2 separate regions of the Homo sapiens genome follow, and region 1 is linked to region 2. The links are contacts of gene promoters, found by promoter capture Hi-C in blood cells and fetal thymus (Javierre and others, 2016). All regions are on one chromosome and are shown on one strand. The core of a region is centred on a gene start or on the middle of the fragment in contact, and the rest is flanking DNA. Distances in the headings are between cores, read along the strand shown. Region 1 has its middle 160 kb from the start of FAM3C. Region 2 holds the start of CPED1 (cadherin like and PC-esterase domain containing 1).

The links. Contacts are between HindIII fragments. The CHiCAGO score rates a contact against its expected background, and 5 or more counts as called.
Region 1: a contact is called between a fragment that was not itself captured here and the fragment with the promoter of CPED1 in region 2, in 1 of 17 cell types (total B cells). The highest score is 7.9, in total B cells.

What each region holds. Positions count from the first base shown.
Region 1 is chr7:121,556,514-121,561,633 of GRCh38, forward strand. No RefSeq gene overlaps it. Among named protein-coding and RNA genes, the nearest start is that of FAM3C, 160 kb to the left of the region's middle. The HindIII fragment of the contact is 1,990 bases long and covers 2,839-4,828 here.
Region 2 is chr7:120,986,570-120,991,656 of GRCh38, forward strand. CPED1 (cadherin like and PC-esterase domain containing 1) reads left to right here and starts at 2,142. Exons shown (of 23, transcript NM_024913.5): 1 at 2,142-2,343; 2 at 2,822-3,301. The coding sequence starts at 3,053. RefSeq lists an enhancer at 1,318-1,397. The HindIII fragment of the contact is 5,089 bases long and covers 1-3,315 here.

The DNA of each region.
Region 1 (5,120 bases), core at 2,584-5,083, 570 kb after region 2:
TTTCTTTACCGGGAATGATGGAAAGGAGAAAGAAGGTGCCCATACCTCCTATTTGAAGCCTATACCTAGACTACCACATGACTCCACTCTCAGTGAAGACATTTCTAACAGGAAGATAGACTTTTTATTCATGTGCTCTTTACTAAGAGAGGATTTATGCTATCTTTTTGGTATGAAGGAAGGATTGAGGGCAATTTTTTTTTTTTTTTTTGAGACACGGTCTCACTCTGTTGCCCAGGCTAGAGTGCAGTGACACAATCATAGCTCACTGCAGCCTTGATGTCCCAGGCTCAATTGATCCTCCCACATCAGCCTCTTGAGTAGCTGGGACTACAGGCATGCACCACCACACCATGCTAATATTTTTTATTTTTAGTAGAGACAAGGTCTTGCCATGTTGCCCAGACTGGCCTCAAACTCCTGAGCTTAAGCAATCCACCTGCCTCAGCCTCCCAAAGTGCTGGGATTACAGGTGTGATCAACAGAGTTATTTTTATTTTTCAATGTTTTTAATTAAATTTCTTCTTATCCAATCCATCCCTCAACCAATTATTTAACACACGATTATGGAGCAACTACTAAGTGCCATACATTGTGCTAAATTCTGGGAATAAAATGGAGTCCTGCACCTTAAGAAACACACAGTCCTGTAGAGAAAGGTTGTATATAAACACTTTAGTGCTATAATATGTAGGAGGTGATCAGACAGCTGCCTGTACAAAGTACCATGTGAACACAGAGGAGTTGTGAGGTGTGTGTGTGTGTTGTAAAAAGATGCAGACATTTAAACATGGTCTTAAATTTCTTCAGACTCCTCCCCCTGAGAGGTGGGATTTATGTTCTTTCTCCTGGAATTTGGGAGGCTTGTACCTGTTTTGAGCAACACAGTGTGGTGGAAATGAACCAAAGTGACTTCTGAGGCTGAAGCTTCTTCCTGGTTCCTTTGGAATGCTCATGCTCTGGATACTTCCTCTCAGAACCCAACTGCCACTCAGCGAGAAGCCCAAGCCCCTTGGAGAGGTCCTGTGCAGACTCTGGTTCCTCCTGAACCCAGCCTCAGGCTCATCCAGCCCCAACATCAGATGTGTGAGTGAAGAAACCTTTAGATAATTCCATCCTGAGCCACTTGTGTCTCTCTTAGCTCAGGCCTCAATCATCCCAGGACAGAAACAAGCCATCTAGGTTGTGCCTGGTGGAAATTTCTGACTCATAGAATCCATGAGCAATAAAACCACAATAAAATTGTGATTGTTTTATGCCACTAAGTTTGTGGGGATTTGCTAGGCAGCAATAGCAAATTGGAACAGGAGAATTTCAGGCAAGGCTTTCTATAATATAGAGCACTTGAACGAAACATAATCGCCATTAAGAGCACAGGCCTTGGTATTAGAACTAGATGAAAATTCCAGTTCTACAATGAACACTAGTTCATGCCACTTGTATAACCTCTAGTAGTTTTTTTGTAAGTATTCTGAGAGATAATGACTGAAAGTGCTTTGTACAGTGTTGCCTTAAAGTAAGCAATCAGTTCTTAGCTTAAAAAAAGATGAATAGAAGTAATAAAAGCAAAAAACAAGCAATTGTACTAAACATAGTATCTACCATTCCAGTTAGTGTAATCGTATGACTCGGCTTACAATTCTCATTTATTCTCTTTGTCCTGGGACCCTTTCAATTTTAGCATACATCCTAGATTCTTTGTTTATTAATTTTTAAAATAAAATAGCAACATTAACAATTGCATTAAAATAATCAGGGATAGATTTGGTGGACCTTCACATTGTATTTAGAATTTCTGCTGTCCAATGTATGGAGTTCTTACTTAAACTTGCACTTCAATCTAGAAGATGATCAGCTATTCATCTTTTCCCATCTCTTTTCAGACAAAACACAATTATCCCCTTTCTTTCAGGCACAGCATGAAAGACACTCTCAGATAAATGCACTGAATGTGAGTGACAAGGGATAGATTAGCTCCAGTGTAGAGCGGGATGGAAAAATACTTGAAGCTTCTGCCTCTGCTGGCCACGTGGCATATAAGCCCATGTTCCATAGCTTTGTATTAGCCTTTGAGATTCACAAACCTGCAGTCACCAATCTGCTGCATCACTGGGAAACACTGGAAACTATAAGTTAGATGTGCATGAAGTAATTTGGAGAAATAAGAGTCTGAACAGTTATTCTGAATAATGCATCAAAGTGGGCCGAATGTTATTGCTACAGTGGTTTAGTTATTTATTATATAGGGTATAATAAGTAGTATTCCCTTAGGGATCACATTTTTTGGTTAGTCTTTTGTTTTTTTCTTTTGCAACAAACTTTTTTGACATCAATGAGCTTAAAACAAAACAAAAAAACAAACAAAAATCCAAAGTCTATATTTAATGGGAAATTAAGCACCTAAACATTCATTTCCTAATAAATGCAATGATGCACATAATAAGATTGTGCAAGCTTTGAGGATGTTTACCATCCAACTATGAAAGCTGTAGTAACATCACGGACCGTGTGAACATCCAAAAATAAAAATATTCTTAAGATGCTTGAGCATTCCCTTCAGAAGTTGGTAGTAGGTAGTCATGTTAGGAAGGTTGTACATAATATTTCATTAAATTAAACAAGTCTTCTTTGAATTAACTTCACTCTTTTCTGATTTCCATTTTTTACATGTACAAAAAGTGAAGCAATAGTTATTAACGTGTTGGTTTGGTTAGAATTTCACAAACAGTTAAAGAAAGTCTAACTTTTGGCAGTGACACCAGATGCTTCACATAGAAAGTCAGATACATTAATTCCAATGGTTCAATTTTTAAAATTCAACTCATGGAACCAGCGAAAAGCTTCTGAAATTTAATTTAACTGAAAGTGAAATATCTGACACTACAGATGCTCCTTGTCTTACTATGGGATCACCTCTCCATAAGCTCATCATGAATTGAAAATATCAGAAGCTGAAAATGCATTTAATATAACCAACCTACCAAACATCATAGCTTAACCTAGTCTACCTTAAATGCGCTCAGGAACTTTCCATTAGCCTACAGTTGGGCAAATTCATCTCACACAAAGTCTATTTTATAATAAAGTGCTTAATATCTTATGTAATTTGTTGAATACCATACTGAAAGTGAAAAATAGAACAGTTGTATGAGCACTAAAAGTACAATTTCTACTAAATGCATATTGATTTCACATTGTTGTAAAGTTGAAAAGCATTAAGTCCAACCACTGTAAGTTGGGGAACATCCTTATTATGATTGGTACTATACATTAAATTAAATGTTCAATATTGAAGAAAAAGTTTTATGTTTTGATGAGACAACGTGAATAAAATGTTTATGGAAAACAGGGCCATAGTAAACACAATGCTATAATTAAATTATTTATGGAGCAAATATACTTGGAATTGTCATGCACATTCAACTTGTCATTATATCTAAATAAACATCTGTATTGTATTAATCAAAACCTATGGTTGCTGAAATTTATCTATGTGTTTTTACATATACACAACTGAGTAACTGAAGTATAAACTTTTTTGTGACAAGTTAAAAAATAAGTTACTATGGTGGCACATGCTTTTTTCTTTGCTGCCTATTAACCTAATAAATTTCCTTTAGTATTTTATAGTGGTATTGAACTTTGAAAAGTGAGTCCTCTTTTTTTTGCGTTTTATTCAAAATCAGTTGGAAATGTTTAAATGAATTATTTAATGGAGTACCAACAATCTCTTGACATTTTTAATGTCAAAGTGTCAACAATCTTTGACATTTTTAGATAATTGCAATTATAGTCAAATCCTGCAAACAGAAAGACATGGAAATTTAGTCCTATAAAATAAAAGCAAGGGATAAACTGAACAAAATCAATGAAAAGGCCCCAGATGGTGTACAAATTTTGAAATTCTACTTCATTTTGGAGTAACTTGACTTATGGCAATTTTTTTGGATGCAGCTTCTATTTTTGATCAGCAGTATTCGATCTGCTGTTAATTCCATCCAAGTATATATTTTTTCACTCAGATATTACATTTTCATCTCTAGAAGTTTAATTCAGGTCTTTTTTTTTTTTACATCTTTATGCTCTTCTTTAATGTTCTCATGATTTCCTTTATTTTCTTGAACATATGGAATCTAGTTGTAATAACGGTCTTGATGACCTTGTCTACTAATTCTATATTTGTTTCATTTTTGGATCTGTTTCTATTGATTTAATTTTCCCCATATGGGTCACATTTCCCTTTCATGTCTGTCAGTTTTGTTTGGATGCCATGCAATGTGAATTTTAACGTGCTGGATGCTGGATACTTATACACTCCTGTTCATATTATTGAATCTTGTTCTGAGGCTCAGTTTGTTACTTGAAAACAGTACAATCCTTTTGAAGCCTGCTTTTAAAATTTGCTAGGCAAAGCCTGAGCAGCCTTTAGTCCAGGACTCATTTTTTGTCATATGAATTAAGAGAGGTTTACACTCTGACTACTGGGAAAACACTATTTCAGACTCTACATGAGCTATGAGGATTGTTGCGTTTCATTATTTCTGATATTTTTCTCTCCAGTTTTGGGTAGTTTTCTCACGTGCATGTATTGATTGGTACTTACCTGAAGACTTGAGGGGAACTCTTCCTACTTTTCTGGGCTCTCTCTTTGTAAAGCTCTCTCTGCTCCATACAGCTTTCTCTTCTCTGGTATTCTGCACTGCAAATTCTATTTTCTTGGCCTCTCCGAATTGGCAACTCTGTCTTTCCACTAAGCAAGTCTGCCAGCCTGTGGTTTGGGTCCCCCTTCCCTGGACACTTTTTTTGGGAGTAAGCTAGAACAATCCTAAGCTTACTTCATTTGCTCTATTCTCTCAGGGGATCCCTTTCCTGAGCTGCCTTTTGTCCAATGTATGAAATCTGCTTTGTATATTTTGTCCATTTTAAAATTGCTTAAAGTGAAAGATCAAATGTGTTTGCTATTAATTATCAAATCTAGAAGCAGAAGTCCCTGAAAATGATATGTGAATAGAATCATTACTTATGTCTACAAATAGCATCAAATGATAAATCAGTAAATAAGTATCTCAAATAGTATACAATTTTCATTATTTTTGTGTCTACTTTTATTCACAAAAGTG
Region 2 (5,087 bases), core at 892-3,391:
GAGCTCATGTTTGCTTTTGGTGTCTAGATGTTCCACGGGACTCATTATTTGATAATTATCTTTTTACGTGTCTGACACCACATCTCCCATAAACTCAGTGAGGAAGGAGCACAGCCTCAGGATTCAAACCTTAACATACATGCATTCAGCATTCATTTATCCAGCAAATACAGAATGCTTAGTTGCTTTCCATATATTATCTCAACTAGTTGTACCAACAACACTTCAAAGGAAACATTAGTATCCTTATATCACGAATGAGGAAAGCTGAGACTTTGGTCAAACCACTTGTTTAAGAACAGCTGATAAAAGGCAGTGCCATGAATCATATCCAGATTGGGTTTACTCTAAAATCAGATGCTTGTGTATCGCCTTAGTCTATTTGGTGATAATTCCTGCTATATCTCCTTTCCACCTCTTGTTTGCACCTTCTCAAGCTACCTCTTTTCTCTCTCTTGCAAATATTTCCTTACTGCTTTCTTCCACTCCCTTGGACTCAGTGGTTAAAATGGGAAATGGGGTTCTTTAATCTACTAGAATCATTTCTGGGATACTAATTTTCCACCTTCTTCCCAATTCCCATTATTTGAAGTCTAGCTATATTATCTTAAAATTTTCAATACTGTTGTCTTTCATTTCTCCCAACCGAATGGCAATTTTATTTTAGCATCTGATTTACTTTCTTCTGTACCTTGTTCTCAACAATTTAATAAAGCATAAGAATGACTCTTTAGATTCCCCAAACTCTGTTTTTCAGACTTCTTGCCTTAACAGAACTTAATAGAACTGTCTGCCTATTCCTTATCACTCAGTAACAGCATTGTCACACCCTGGATTCCAATTTAGAAATCTCACAATTCTTATTATCTCTCAAATCACATTGCATCCACCAAAACGATATGTCCTACAACACCACTGTTCAGCCATTTTCTCTTAAAACTCTTTTGGCTTCTAAAAGTGAAGCATCACTTTATTTTTCTCTATCCCATTTGTCATAAGATTAAGGACTCTGAACCTATACATAAAATAATATTAAAGCCACTGGAGGCGATACATGCAAGGGCTTGGGATAAATCCAGCTTCCGTGTGAATATTTCTTCTGTAATGTGTTAATTAATTTGTTCTATAGGATGTTAAAAGGGTTTCTTTCTCACAAGCAAGGAACTCTAGATGCCCATTTCTCTGAATCTGTGCTAGCTGGGCACCCCTAGGGGGCGCTCCGTCTCTCAAAATACAAGGGGCTGACAGCAGCGTGCCTCTGGGTGAGGCTCACTCTAGGGGTGTGGCCTCACGGAGAACCTCAACCCACAAGAGTTTGGCTTAGAAACAAGTTTGAAAACCTCTTCAGGTCCAGAGCCTTTAAATAATGCCTGCTATGCGCTAAGACAGCCCTGGGTATCCAGAGTTCACAAAGCAAGGACTGATTTCCTTTCGCCTTGACAGCCTCAGCAAAAGTGGAAGGGGGTTTGCAGAATTGCACTATTAGCAGCGTCCACCCGAAGGTCTGCACAGAATTAGACTGAGCTGATTCTGGACAAAGCCCACTGTGTACCTTTATCTACTGGGCAAAAGTTACCCCCAACACCTGCTATAATCGACTCATTTTAGGAGCAAAATGTCAGGCCATGAAGCATCAGATCATTGAAAGACCCAATTAATTAGTCCAGGAAAGGAGTAATAAGAACATCTGTGATCTGAGTTCCATACTAAGACACAGAGAGACGACTGAGTTATTCTGGTGCTTGCTGTCTGAGGTCCAGACAGTACTTGTGACCCTCTTATCCTCAGAAGAGTAACCACAATTCCCTGGAGTGAAGAATATCCCAATTCACTCATGGAGTTCACTTTAGTCTCATTCTCGACCTTTGTCACCAATTGGCTAAGGCTATTTGTTTTTCCAATTCTGTATTAGGAAAAAGAAGTTGCACAGAGGATCAGACATCAGATACGTTTCTAAATTCTGCAGCTCTGGGTGGGCAGCCTCATTTGGGGAAATGCTAGCTGCTGTTTCCAAAGTGGGGAAGCCCACGGTTTCGGACACAGGGCTGACAGCGCTGCTCCAGCAGCCCCCAGGGCCAGAGGAACCCGGCCTTAGCTCCGCCCCGCTCTGCCCGGCCCCGGGTGGCTGCGATGCCGAGGTCCTCTGCTCCCGCCGGGCGTGCAGCGGGCGCGCGCGCGTGTGTTTATGTGTCTGTGTGCGTGTGTGTGTGTGTCTCTCTCTGTGTGTGTGTGAGATGAATTGGAGTCATACGACTGGGTGTTTCCTTCCGAGTGGTTTTCATCAGCAATCCATTAGGAAATCATGGAAACTTTTTTTTTCCTGGCTAAAAGGATGAAAACTGAGTAAGTACATAGAACTTTGAACTTGAGACGGAATGAAACAAATTCAAGCAAAAACCCTGACAGTAACCATGTCCATTCAAATTGCGTATGCCCTTTTTATGTTAAAAGCCGTGAATACTTACAGGACAGTGGGAATTTAAAACTAAATGAAGGGAAGCATACAAAAGGCTGAAAGCAAGACTGCTTTAAAACCGGAGGAAAATTGAGGAACTGCTAAGGCAACCTGGCCTGAGTTCAGCTGTGCAACAGGCACTTTGGGTTTTAATCTTTTGCGTTCTTCAATGCTGTTTTCAGACTCCAGATATACTTTGGTATTGTTTTCTCTCTTCCTGCAAAGCTGAGGCAGAGTCGGACTCCTTTACTGTGAGTTGAAAGATGTGAGAATAAGGCATTGCTGGAAGCAACAGTTTGGCAGCCTGGGGTACACTCAGGTTATTCGTTACAACTATTATTATTTGATGTCTTTTTTTAAACTCAGGTCATCCACTTTTGACTGTCATCCATGGAAGAGCTCTTATTAAAAGCCTCAGACTTTCGGGACCTATGATTCTTTGGCACAACCTTTTGGAAAATTCTTAAGCAGGGATGAAGCAAACTTGATTGGAGTTGGGGAAAAAGAAGACAGATTAGTATTTTTCATGCTGACAAAAAATAGCTGCTATGACTTTTCCCGCAACGTGGACAGGGGCCAAGTGAAGCTGAACTGGTCATGGTCTGTCGCCCAGTGTTCCCTTGTCGTCGGCGATTTTGCCCCCGACCCTTCTTGGTGGGCTTAGTGGTGGCAATCTGTCTCTTCTACCAGACTCTGACCCTCCGAGGGTCGAGGAAGCTCACAGCCGCTGCCCCTGGGGCTGTCCCACACACATCCACTGAAACCCAGGCAAGCAGATGCAAGAAAGGATTCTCTCAGGACAAACAGTGCTTCCTTCTCTCTGGTAATGCCCAGGAAACCAGAAAGGTAAGACTCTCATAAGCTTAACGGAGACAGTTTCTGCAAAGACAGCAATCTGCTTCTCTGTCCTTTCTATAAAACTAAAATTAACTTCCATGAGGTCTGAAAGGGATCCAGAGTGTAAACAGCCTAGAGAGTGACCTGATGACTGGGAAACACGTTACATAAGCTTCAACTTCTTATAGTTACTTCCAGAAAGTTCTGGCATTACTTTATCTCTTAGGATTTCACTTCATTTCAGTGGAATGAAGTAGACAGTTTGGAGGAGGCATAAAATGATGTGGATTCTTTCTAAAATATCAGTATTCTAAGAGATCTGAGGATTTACAATTCAAAAACATAAATCAAAGTTTCAAAAACTTTGATAAACCTTGAGTGTCTCTTTTCTCAAGGCAGTCAGTATGAGTGCCCAGACCATTCCAGACTCAAAGATTCTCCAAAGTTTCATTTTGTAACTAGCTAGATTGATTCTTAATTGGTGACCACATTTCTAAAGCAATATATTTACTTCGAAAGCATTAAAATAATAGGATAATAGGTTTCTTCAAAAGAATTGATACAATGTATTTTATTGTTTATAGGATCAGGGAAATACAGATTATTCTATATTTATACTATTCAGATAAACTTACTAATCTTACTTGTCAAATATTGAAAAAAAACACAAAAAGCACACAAAGTAACACAGGATTTCTATTTTAATATACCACTCTCCTCATGCCTATCAGTAATATAATGACCTGTAACATAGTCAAGTGTAAAACAGAACATGAAGAAATAAAAAAAAATCCATGCAAAAAAGATCATGGTGGCAAAGCTACTAAATTTTATGTTACAACAAGTAGTATTGTAGCAACAAAATAGAGGGCTCTGTAAGTAGCATCTTATATCTACAGTAGATTCTGGTCGATCTTATGATGCCGGTTACCGTTTGAAGTAGAATTTCTACTTGAACACCAGCTCCGTTGCTACCATTATTACCAAAACCTCCACGATTGACCAGCACCACTTCTTTTAAAAACTCTTTTATTTATTTCGTTTCAGACTACTGCCCTGTGAGACAGGTACAGTAGATAGGATTATTAGCATTTTATGAACAAGGAGCCTGACAGTGCCATTTAGGTAGGTCACATGGTTAGCATTATGACAAGATGCATCCCCAGAGCAATAGCTATCAAGCTGCTTGGTTCCTACTGCAGGGCTGATGCTCCAAATAAAAGTCAATTCAAAGCCCTTGTAATAATTTTTGAAACCACAACTACAAGAACTTACTGAAATACAAAATAACATTAAGTTAAAACAAGGAAAATTTTAAACTTTTAAGTGACTTCATTTGTTATCCGTAATGCCAGGAAACATCCTGACCAAGAACTATCTTATGACAAAGAATAGTAGATAATATAAGTTGAAACACTTTAAAATGAAACTGCAACTGAAATTGTACATCTATTTTTAGGCACAGTAAAGTTATTGAAGAATGTGTATTTTTGTTGTTGTTGTTCATTTATACTAGCATTAACTTTTTTCTTTTCCTGACTACATCACAGTTACAATGGATGTAAACTGTGACTGTTAAAGTCATTTCTTGTTAGTTTCAACATTGAGAAAGGCAATTTCTTAAAAAATAGTTGAGATAGTCTTGCTCTTATTTAATGCCTAAAATTTTTGCTAGGAATTTTGAATGAAAAGGTTTTATTCATGAACTTACAGCTTTCTTACTCCCCTTGTTCACTCTGTGTGATTCCTACTTTGTTTGTAATTTAGGCATATGTTAGCTGTTATTTGTGGGCTG